Regions from separate parts of the Homo sapiens genome. Here all the other regions are linked to region 3. The links are contacts of gene promoters, found by promoter capture Hi-C in human tissues and cell types (Jung and others, 2019). All regions are on one chromosome and are shown on one strand. The core of a region is centred on a gene start or on the middle of the fragment in contact, and the rest is flanking DNA. Distances in the headings are between cores, read along the strand shown. Region 1 has its middle 35 kb from the start of LCE5A. Region 2 has its middle 45 kb from the start of CRNN. Region 3 holds the start of CRCT1 (cysteine rich C-terminal 1).

What was found. Contacts are between HindIII fragments. The study calls those that stand out against the background at their distance.
Region 1: a contact is called between a fragment that was not itself captured here and the fragment with the promoter of CRCT1 in region 3, in 2 of the 25 tissues and cell types used here (neural progenitor cells and thymus).
Region 2: a contact is called between a fragment that was not itself captured here and the fragment with the promoter of CRCT1 in region 3, in 2 of the 25 tissues and cell types used here (mesendoderm cells and spleen).

Annotation. Positions count from the first base shown.
Region 1 is chr1:152,473,803-152,477,384 of GRCh38, reverse strand. No RefSeq gene overlaps it. Among named protein-coding and RNA genes, the nearest start is that of LCE5A, 35 kb to the left of the region's middle. The HindIII fragment of the contact is 8,673 bases long and covers 1-3,582 here.
Region 2 is chr1:152,457,220-152,460,681 of GRCh38, reverse strand. No RefSeq gene overlaps it. Among named protein-coding and RNA genes, the nearest start is that of CRNN, 45 kb to the right of the region's middle. RefSeq lists enhancers at 117-176, 2,095-2,164. The HindIII fragment of the contact is 6,142 bases long and covers 1-3,462 here.
Region 3 is chr1:152,512,349-152,515,918 of GRCh38, reverse strand. CRCT1 (cysteine rich C-terminal 1) reads right to left here and starts at 1,437. Exons shown (of 2, transcript NM_019060.3): 1 at 1,367-1,437; 2 at 1-557. The coding sequence starts at 535. The coding sequence ends at 236. The HindIII fragment of the contact is 6,327 bases long and covers 1-3,570 here.

The sequences.
Region 1 (3,582 bases), core at 218-2,717, 39 kb after region 3:
CTCAGAAGACAGGAAGATATGGAAATGTTTGGAACTTCCTAGGGACTTGTTGAATGGCCTTGACCAAAATGCTGATAGAGATATGGATAATGAAGTCCAGGCTGAGGTGGTCTCAGGTGGAGATGGGGAATTTCTTGGGAACTGGAGTGAAGGTCACTCTTCCTATGCAAAGAGACTGATGGCATTTTGCTCCTGCCCTAGAAATCTGTGGAACTTGGAACTTGAGAGAGATGATTTAGGGTGTTTTGCAGAAGAAATTTCTAAGTGACAAAGCATTCAAGAGGAAGCAGAGTATAAAAGTCTGGAAAATTTGCAGCCTGATGATGCAATAGAAAATAAAATACCATTTTCTAGGGAGAAATTCAAGCCAGCTGCAGAAATTTGTGTAAGTAATAAGGAGCTGAATGTTAATCGCCAACACAATGAGGAAAATGTCTCCAGGCCATGTCAGAGACCTTCACAGCAGACCCTCCCATCACAGGCCCAGAGGCCTATGAGGAAAAAATGGTTTCATGGGCCAGGCCCAGGGCTCCTGTGCTGTGTGCAGCCTAGGAACTTGGTGCCCTGTGTCCCAGCTGATACAAGTGTGGCTAAAAGGGGCCAAGATACAGCTCCGGCTGTGGCTTCAGAGGGTGCAATTCCCAAGCCTTGACAGCTTGGCAGAAGTCAAGAATTGAGGTTTGGGAACCCCATCTAGATTTCAGAGGATGTATGGAAACACCTGGAAGTCCAGGCAGAAGTTTGCTGCAGGGGTGGAGCCCTCATGGAGAACCTCTGCTAGGGCAGTATGGAAGGGAAATGTGGGGTCAGAGTCCCCACCTGGGCACTGCCCTGTGGAGCTGTGAGAAGAGGGCTATGGTCCTCCAGACCCTACAATGGTAGATCCACCTACAGCTTGCACCTGTGCACCTGGAAAAGCCACAGGCACTCAACACCAGCCTGTGAAAGTAGCCTGAAGGGGGGCTGTACCCTGCAAAACCACAGGGACAGAGCTGCCCAAGGCTGTGGGAGGCCACCTCTTGCATCAGTGTGACCCAGATGTGAGACATGGAGTCAAAGGAGATCATTTTGGAACTTTAAGTTTTAATGACTGCTCTATTGGATTTTGGATTTTCGTGGAGTCTTTAGCCCTTTTCTTTTGGCCAATTTCTCCCATTTGGAATGGGTGTATTTACCCAATGCCTGTATCCCCATTATATCTAGGAAGTAACTAACTTGCTTTTGATTTTACAGGCTCATAGGCATAAGGGACTTACCTTGTCTCACATGAGACTTTGGACTTGGACTTCTGAGTTAATACTGGAATGAGTTAAGACTTTGGGGGACTGTTGGAAGGGCATGATTGTGTTTTGAATTGTGAGGACATGAGATTTTGTTGGGGCCAGGGGTGAAATGATATAGTTTGAATGGACTAATACAGGCACCCTCTCCTCCTGTTAGGGCACCTTTCCCTATATAGGGCACCCCTCCTACTGTTAGGGCACCCCTCCTCCTGTTAGGACAACCCTCCTCCTGTTAGGGCACCCATTCTCCTGTTGGGGCACCCCCTTTTCCTGTTAGAATACTCCTCTTCCTGTTATAACACCCCCCCTCTTAGGGCAACCCCTCCTTCTGTTAAGGCACCCCTCCCCCTGTTAGAGCAACTTTCCTCCTGTTAGAGCACCTCTCCTCCTGTTAGAACAACTTTCCTTCTGTTGGAGCACCCTTCCTTCTATTAGGACACCCCTCCTTCTGTTAGGGAACCCCTCTTCCTCTTAGGGCATCTCTCCTGATTTTAGGGCCCCATTTTCTTGTTAGAACACACCTCCTCCTATTACAGCACCCTTCTTCTTGTTACAGCACCTCTCTTCCTGTTTAGGGCACCCCTCCGCCTGTTAGGGCATCACTTTCTCTTTTTGGGGCACCTCTCCTCCTGTTAGAGAACTCTACCTCCTGTTAGAGCACCCATTCTACCTCTTAGGTCACCCCACCTCCTGTTAAGGCCCCCTCCTCCTTTTAGAGCACCTCCTTCTCTGATTAGAGCACCCCTCCTTCTCTGATTAGAGCACCCCTCCTCTTGTTAAGATACCCTTCCTCCATTTACAGCATCCATTCTCCTGTTAGGACATCCCCTCCTCCTGTTAGGGACCTACACCTCCTGTTAGAGCACCCCCTCTTCCTGTTAAAGCACCTCCTCCTCCTTTTAGGCTCCTCCTCCTGTTCAGGCCCCCTCCTCCTTTTAGAGCATCCCCTTCTCCTATTAGGCACTCCATCCTATTAGGAGCACCCTAATTAAGGCACTTCTATTAGAGCACCCCTCCCCCTGTTAGGGCACTCTCCAACCCCATTAGAACACCCTTCCTCCTGTTAAGGCACCCCTTTTCCTGTTAGGGCATGCCTCCTCCTGTTCGAACTTCCTACGTCTTGTACACAGCACCCCTCTTTCATGTGATCTCCCAAATTCGGCTGAAACACCTCCAGGCCAGAGAAACCAAAACCCATCAAGACAATAGCCACTTGCTTTTCTGAACAGATTAGATGGTTAGATGATATGGCTTGGCTCTGTCCCCACCCAAATCTCATCTTGAATTCCCAAGTGTTGTCAGAGGGACCCAGTGGGAAGTAATTGAATCATGAGGGCAGGTCTTTCCCATGCTGTTCTCTGTTCTCGTGATAGTAAGTTTCACAAGATCTGATGGTTATTATAATGGGGAGTTTTCCTGCATAAGCTCTATTCTCTTGTCTGCTGCCATGTGAGACATGCCTTTCACCTTCCACCATGATTGTGAGGCCTCTCCAGCCACGTGGAACTGTAAGTCCAATAAACTTCTTTCTTTTGTAAATTGCCCAGTCGGGTATGTTTTTATCAGCAGCGTGAAAATGGACATTAGAAATTATTTTTCATTTTAAGCATGACTCTTTGTAGCCTCTGTCCACTCACTGGTCCTACTTATACCCTTCCACACACTAAAAATTTCTTAGCTCTCCTTCAGACTTCTCATCTCCCAGATAAGCATTCAAGGTTCCTCCCAGGCATTGTTGTCATTAGAGGAATGGCTTTGGATTGCATCATCACTCTAGGCTCTCTACTATGACTTTTCTGGGTCTTTGTCATGGGACTGAAATGGACCTGGCAAGGGGCAGCCTAATAGACCTGTTCTATGGCATAATGGTTGGGCCCATTCACAGCACCGTCTACATGTGGCAGCCCTGGAGTTGTGCAGTAGAAAAGCTGTGGGGGCCTAAGCAGCAACCTCGCTGTCCTTGGGGCCTACAACAGTGTAGATGTTTCCAGGGATGAGTCAGTGTTGATGAGGCAAATTATTCAGGGAGGTTGTGGCAACACAACCAGAAAGAGAGTTGTGGTCAGGGAAGAAAGCAGAAGGTAAAGACAAGAGAAACAGCAGTGACCAGCAGATATGAGGAGTGAGGCAAGTACACAAGGTAAGAGAAAATTCTAAAAAATTAGAAGGCGGTTCAGAAGCAAACTTTTGTTGTGTGTTTAAGGGATTGGTCTACCCAGGACGCCTCTAATATGTGAACTAAGTAAAGAAGGAGGAAATGGATCTAAGCAAAGATATGAGGGTTCCTCCTCATTAGAAT
Region 2 (3,462 bases), core at 85-2,584, 55 kb after region 3:
TGTACAGATTGTTTTTCGTAAGGTATACCAGCACAAGCAAAGGCAAAGGGACATTTGCATGATGCTACCATGAGGTATTATATACATAAAGTGTTTCGGGAAGACTGAAATAATTAATTTGCTAGAGTCACGTATAGAAAGGCTTCATTTGCCATTTCCAAGTAAAGAAGAATGAAGATTGACTGGGTGAAAAGGCGGTTTATGCACACAACCAGCAGGTGGCGCCCACCCTTCTGCACATCTAGCAGCCTGGTTAGTCCCTCCCAAATTACAGCAACCAGGAAGGAGTCAAATGCTGATGTCCACCTGGGCCAACCCTCACCCCCACACACATCCCACACCTTATACTCTGAGCTACTCTGAACCCACTACCTACAGAAACTAGAACAGATAGGAAACAGCATGGTTAAAAATGTTCCACACTTGCTTTCACTTTCAAGAAGAATGTCACTTCTGTGCTTTTACTTTCAGATAATTTAAAAACCAAAAGTCTACTTAATGCCAAAAAAAAAAAGAGAAGTAAAAATAGTAATTGATTTCAGAGTGGTGAGGACGCTGGACCTAAAACCAGGGGTACAAGGAAGCAGCCTCGGTGTGGTGGGGATCAGTGAGAGCCTGTGACTCCTGGGGCCCTCCTCGGCCACTGAGCTGGGGCTCACTGACACCAGGAGGCCAGCTCAGAGCATGGCAGCTGCTGCAGGCAGGGCCACTCGGCCGAATGAAGGCAATGGGGTGCAGAGGAGAGAACGGGGCTCTGGAGCCAGAACATCTGCTTTGCTGGCTCTGTGGCCATGTGTGAGTTACCCACTCTCACCAAACCACTATTTCTCAACTTCTAAATTGGTCCATAACACACTCCCAGAGGAGTTGACATGATCAGCATGTTTAAGTGCCTAGTGGTGCCCAGCATATAATATATACTCAGTCAGTAGAGGTAGCTCAACCCCATTACTCTCCTCTCTCACTCCCTTCCAGCCACACTGGCCTCTTTGCTGTATCTTGTGTAGATCAGGAATGATTTCACCTTAGGACATTTGCATTGGCTTTTCCCTCTACCTGGAATCTTCTTACCCAAGATATCTGCTTGGCTCCCTCCCTATATTTCTTTCAAAAGTAAGCTTCTTAATAAAGCAGAGCTGACCAGTCCATTTAAATTACAACTTACCCTTTATCCTTGCCACTTGCACTCTCATTCCTTATTCAGCTCTATTTCTATAGTGGTTACCGCCTTCTAACATGTTGTATAATTTACATATTTATTAGGGTTATTGTTTACTGCCTACTACTCCCACCCACATATCCCAGCTTTTATCTATTCTGTTTACTGCTGTATCTCTAGAGTCAATAACACTGACTGGACATCGTAGACACTCAACAAATACTTATCAGTTTTATGAATGAATGGATGCATGGATAGATGCTCTTCCATCTTCAAAAATCAAATATCATCTGTCAAACAGAGAGAGCAGGTGTTAAGGTCAAAGGCGATCCCTTATGTGAAAGGGCAGGTGGAGGAGGAAGCACTGCACCATGGAAAACTGTGTTCCAGGTGGTTGCCAAGAATACTCAGAAGTTAGAGATGAAGGGCTGCCCCAGACACAGCCTTGGGGCCCAAGATTCATACTGCTGTTAGAGGGGCACAAACTTGCTGGGTTTTGACTCTGGGAGGAAAACCACGTGTGGGGTCTTAAGCGGGGCCCTGTGTCTTTGGGGATTCACATTTGTTGCACCCAACTATACTCTGGAGCTTCAGAAATCAATGGAAGTTGCTCTGGATTCAAAAATCAATAGAAGTTGCTCCCTTCCCTGGAGATGCCCACGGTCAACCTTTGTCTTTTGGAGTCAGGCTAACCTGAAGTTGAATCCCAGCTCTACCACCATTGAGTTATGACCTTGGACAAATCACGTAAATTATCTGAGTTTACACTTCTATACATGGCAATATTAGTGGCCACTTTTCAGCAGACTGCCTACACACAGTGTGAATTTGAGAAATACTAGTTCCCTTACCGTTCCGTCTTCCATCTCTGAAACTTCGCTGGAGCTCCATCTTCTTGAGACATGGCGATGCATTTCAGGAGTTTCCCTGAAGAGGGAGCCAGAGCACCACGGAAATCCTAATTGTTGGCTGACAGCAGTCAGCGCAGGGAAGCTTATGGGCACAGCCAGTCAGCAAGTCTTTTGGGTCCAGACCTCGGCTTCCTCTCTCTCAATGCCTTCTATCAAAACCCCCCCACCTTGTGCCAAGTGCTGCTCACAGTCTGCCAAGCAGCTCCCCTATCTCAGGCTCTACCTAGTCAAAATGATCTTTCAATCAAAATTCCAATTTTCTTTTCAGTCACTTTATATAGCTGTTGTCATAGTAAGTGACAACTTGGTTTAATAAAGCCAGTTGTGCCAGGATGTTGCTAGGTAATATTTGCTACTTCTAGGTAACGTGTATATTTTAACAGGTGCCTTCTGATGATACATATGGGGACAGGTAGGCATTCCAAATGCTGAGATCCAGTGCCACTCACCTTTAGACCACCCTGCATTCCATGGGCTATACTTAATATTTGGTGCTTACCCACAGTAAGCTTACATTAGGTTGAACACATAAAATTGTTCATAATCCACCATTTTACCTACAAAACAACAATTTCATATGGTCCAAAATAATATTTCACTTCTTCACCCCCACTCAATTTCAGTGTAGACTCCAGGTCTTTTTTTTTACTTTCCCCATCACATTTTTGCCCTCAAGCACTGTTTTCACTCTTGTTATATTCCCCCCCTCCAGCCCTACCTCAGTTTCCAGTTCCTACACCTTGCCTAGGCCACACCTCACCCTTGCAGGGCATCTCCCTGCTGAGGCAGCTGCTGTGATGGGATTGGTCCCACCTGCCATCTCCAAAATGAGCACAACAGGGCTTTGTCCAGCCAAGAACATAGGGCTCCAGCTCCTCCCATACCACAATATCCCATGAGCACTCTCTCAGTCTCCCAGCAAACTTCTCTGCCCTCGCAGACTCTGGAGTGCCAGTCCCATCGAGTAACTATCTGAAACCCTTTGAGTCTAATTGTCTTCAGATGTGAAATGTAAAAGGACAATGCACACCACATAAGGTTGACATAAGGAATGACTGGCGTAATGGTTGTAAAAAGCCTAGCACTGTGCCTGGCAGATGGCAGTCATTCTGCAAGGTACAGTTGCCCTCTCAGAACCTAGGCATGGTGTACAAGACCAAAGCCCCCAAAGCAACTCATTGTCCTGTCCACCTCTTCCTAAAATGCCATGTTATTGTTGCACCCCCATAGGCACCATTTTGTCAAGTGTGGTCTGGTCCTATTCTCCAAGCACTCTGTATCACACACTCCTGTGATTGCCACAGCATGGGGCAGGGCTGGCCTGGTAACTCCCTAAGGGACTAAGTCCTGCCTCACCAACAGTCTTCTATTCTGTCCTGGGCCCCTGAGATT
Region 3 (3,570 bases), core at 188-2,687:
GTAGACAGTAGGGTCCAGTGTCCCACGCATGGCTCTCGAATCCCCGGGGAGAAAAATCACATCGGGGTCAGGGAGTTTTGCGTGGCTGAGAACAAAGTGGGTTTCTGAACATCAAAGTGCAATTCGCTTTACGGGGCAAACTCCGAGGCCCAGCCCCGCGTGGGAGCCGCAGCGGGGCGGGCCCGCTCTGGGCTGGGCGGGTTTCTCTAGCGCAGCGCTGGGGGTTGCGGGCCTCTCAGCAGCCGGAGCAGCATCCTGAGCTCCGGTTGTTGGAGCGCTGGGACCTCTGGCTGCCGCCCCCGCAGCAGCAGCAACCACTACTCCGCTGTCGGCGGCGTCTCCTTGGGAAGCAGCAGCAACTGGTGGAGCTGGAGCCGCAGCAGCCTGAGTCGCCGCAGCAGCCCCTGCCGGAGCCGCAGCAGGAGGAGGAGGAGGCGGGCGCCGGGGTGGGCGCCGGGGCGGGACACGGAGCGGGGCCCTGGGACGACCCCTTGGAAAAGCCTTTGGCGGAAACGGCGCTCTGTTGAGAGGACATCGCGGAGCTCCTCACGACAAACCTGGAAGAAAGGCAGCCTTTCAAAGGCGAGCCGGCTTTTTCTTTCCACCAATGGAACTCTGTCTGGGCTTTTGAGATTCGGCTTAGTGTACAAGTCAGCCTGGCCTGGGACAAGGAGGGAAAAGCACCCAGAAAGAGCGGACGCAAAGAAGCAAATCCAAGCAGGTGTTTCCAGTGAGTTAAACATGCTCAGAGCAGGACACAATCCATGCAATGAATCAATGCATTTCCATTTTCTCTGACTAGAAGAAGACTGCTCAAGTTCTCCACAGTGGAAAATAAACAGCACACTGCGGCAACTTATCTGTATGATCCAGTCCAAAATCTCCACTTGGCTTTTTTCTTGTCCCTCATTTTACTTTCCTACCGACCTTCGACTGTATCTTCCTAGTTACTACACCCCCATCAGTTAGAAAACACCCAAGTCCAACAGGCGGTCCCACCTGCTGGGTCTAAATAATCCACAGGCCAGAAGCATGTCCTGATCATTCTTTCTTGCCTACGCCTCTCATGCCCCACAACCATGTGGGAAAGGAGAGTTGTGCCAATATAAATAACCCCATCCAGGGAGCTGAAAGACCTGGGTTCTAGTCACAGCTCTTCTGCGGACTTGCTGTGTACCCTTGCAAAAACCACCTCCTATGTTGCCTTTATGTCCTCATTAGTACCTTAAGAGGTTGGCTCACTAGAAGCGTAGGTGCCTTGCGGGACACCCCTTCCACATCTATCTGCTGCCTGTGTTCTGTTTGCTCCTCCCCTGTGCCCTCAACTCATCCCACCCTCTCCCCCAGACCCTGCTAGGAGACTTACCAGACCCTGGCTCCACTGAAAGACTCACTACGTTCTCCAACTGGAATGGGCCACCTGCTAGGCAGTGGATTGAGCAGCGTCCAGCCAGAGAACCTTTTTATAAGAAGTATTCAGGTTCAGGCTCTTGGGAGGGGCCCATTTCCCAACAGACGTGCTCAGCTGACACTCACATCCCAGAGACATTCATCACTCAGGTAGCATTGTAGGTGGTGCATGTGGGCATCTAAGTCACTTCACAGAGGTGCCAGGATTGCTATGGCATGTTTACTTTCCAAACAGGGCACTGTTTGTACCTGGGAGGCTGTGTGTATGCTAAGAGAGGGCATGGGGCTCAAATGCAGGGAGGTCTGGAACCCCTGCCCTTGTCTTCAATACACACACACACACACACACACACACACACACACACACACACAGACGGCTCCACTTGCCCACACATCCATTCCTATGTAGTCATCTACTTGGTAGGTGGTAGTTCACCTATTTTTATCTTGATTCTCATCTCTCTGGCTCTTGGTCCTTGGCTCCCCAGGGCAGACCACAAGCTATGCGATAAGCCTGCTGGGTTTCATCCATATGCTTCAAGATGCAGTGAGTGAAGATGATGACGGGGATGCACCTTTGGGAACCCCAGGGGTGATTTCTCTCTGTCACTGGAGACAGGAAGAAAAACCTAGGCAAAGTTAAGGAACCATAAGACCAGAAAAGTTGTGAATGTAGTCAGGTTGCCATATCCCCATAATACAGCATGGTATGACAAAGAGAAAAATGTGTGCAGGACAGTGGCCCAATTGCAAAAAGGCTAGTCAGCCTGTGGGACTCCTGCTTCTTATCCCACCCCCAACCACCAATCTGCCTTTGAAGATAAGTTCTCCCTAGGGCCACTGCCCAGTGCAAAAGAAAATGGGAAAGGAAGAAGGGAGGGAGGGAAAGAAGAAAAAAAAGAGAAAGAAAGAAAGAAAGTTCTTTCCAAAGGTCCAAAGTGTTCATGATAGATAGTGTTTTCAGAATAACTAATTTTTAAGAATTGGAGGATACTTTGGCAGTCAACTTCAGAACTGCTTCTTAATCAAATTGCCCACAACTGTGAATGTGAACTATAACAGAAGTCCAAGACTAAGAATTCAGGAATTAAGGATGAGAGACAGGTTTGGGGGCGAGTGAGCTGGGAGTGGCTCAAGGGACTAGGCGAGGAAAGATAAGTCACAAAAGATACCAGTTTCATTTAACATGGATTTAGAGCCTGATTAACAGGTTGCCAGTTCCTAGAGCACCTGTTGGTGAGTATAGGTGAGACATTCCAAAAAGTAAAGTCAATATTAGAACAGAGAAGGAAGTAATGAAATAACAAGACAGAGGCAGGATCTCCTCTGGGAAAATGGGCAAAGTTCTTTTAAAAAAAAAAAAAAAGAATGAAGAACGTTTGGTAGGAATCAGTATAAGGAGATAATCTGGGCAAGTGCCTACTCATTCTGTGGGCATCCTATGATCTCATAAACCAGCTTACTTTATTTATCGCTATTAACTCTTATCAAAGGAGGCATCAATTGTTTATCTTTTATATTAAAGGCTGATTTGGAATTAACTTTTCTAGTTATCTTTTCTAGGTACATTATGAGTGTCTCCTGAAGGAACCAGCCCATTCCTAAAGAAATGTTGCTTGGAAAACCCAACACAGGGACCAAAACCCCTGTACTCTTATACCTCTCACTGCACACACACACACACACACACACACACACACACACACGTACGTCCCAACCACATAGAGACAGTCTTTGCAAAGAAGGGTGTCTTTCTCAGTTCTTTACCCAGATTCAAATCCAGGATTTCAGCATGCAGGGAAAATGTGCTCAGACGTTTCATATCTGCCTCCAAAACTCACTCACTGCCCACCCAGCTCTCCCTCTAGCCAACTGATGGAAACACCTGAGCTTATAATAATCAGAAAAGTAAAGAGTGTCCATTTATTAGAGCCCAGGATGAGCACTTCAGGCAATCTTATTCCCCATGAATGGGGACAAGCAATTTTTCAAACTGTGACCCATGCTTGAAGGAAACCCTCTCAGAACCTGAACCTTTTGAGTACAACCATCCTCTTCTCTTCAAACCCATTCCTGGCTCTCCTCATACAATCTTGTGTCTGGCGTAATGGTCTCAGACATTATTCTTTCCTTCAAGCTTAAAGTTCCAGAATCCAGTGC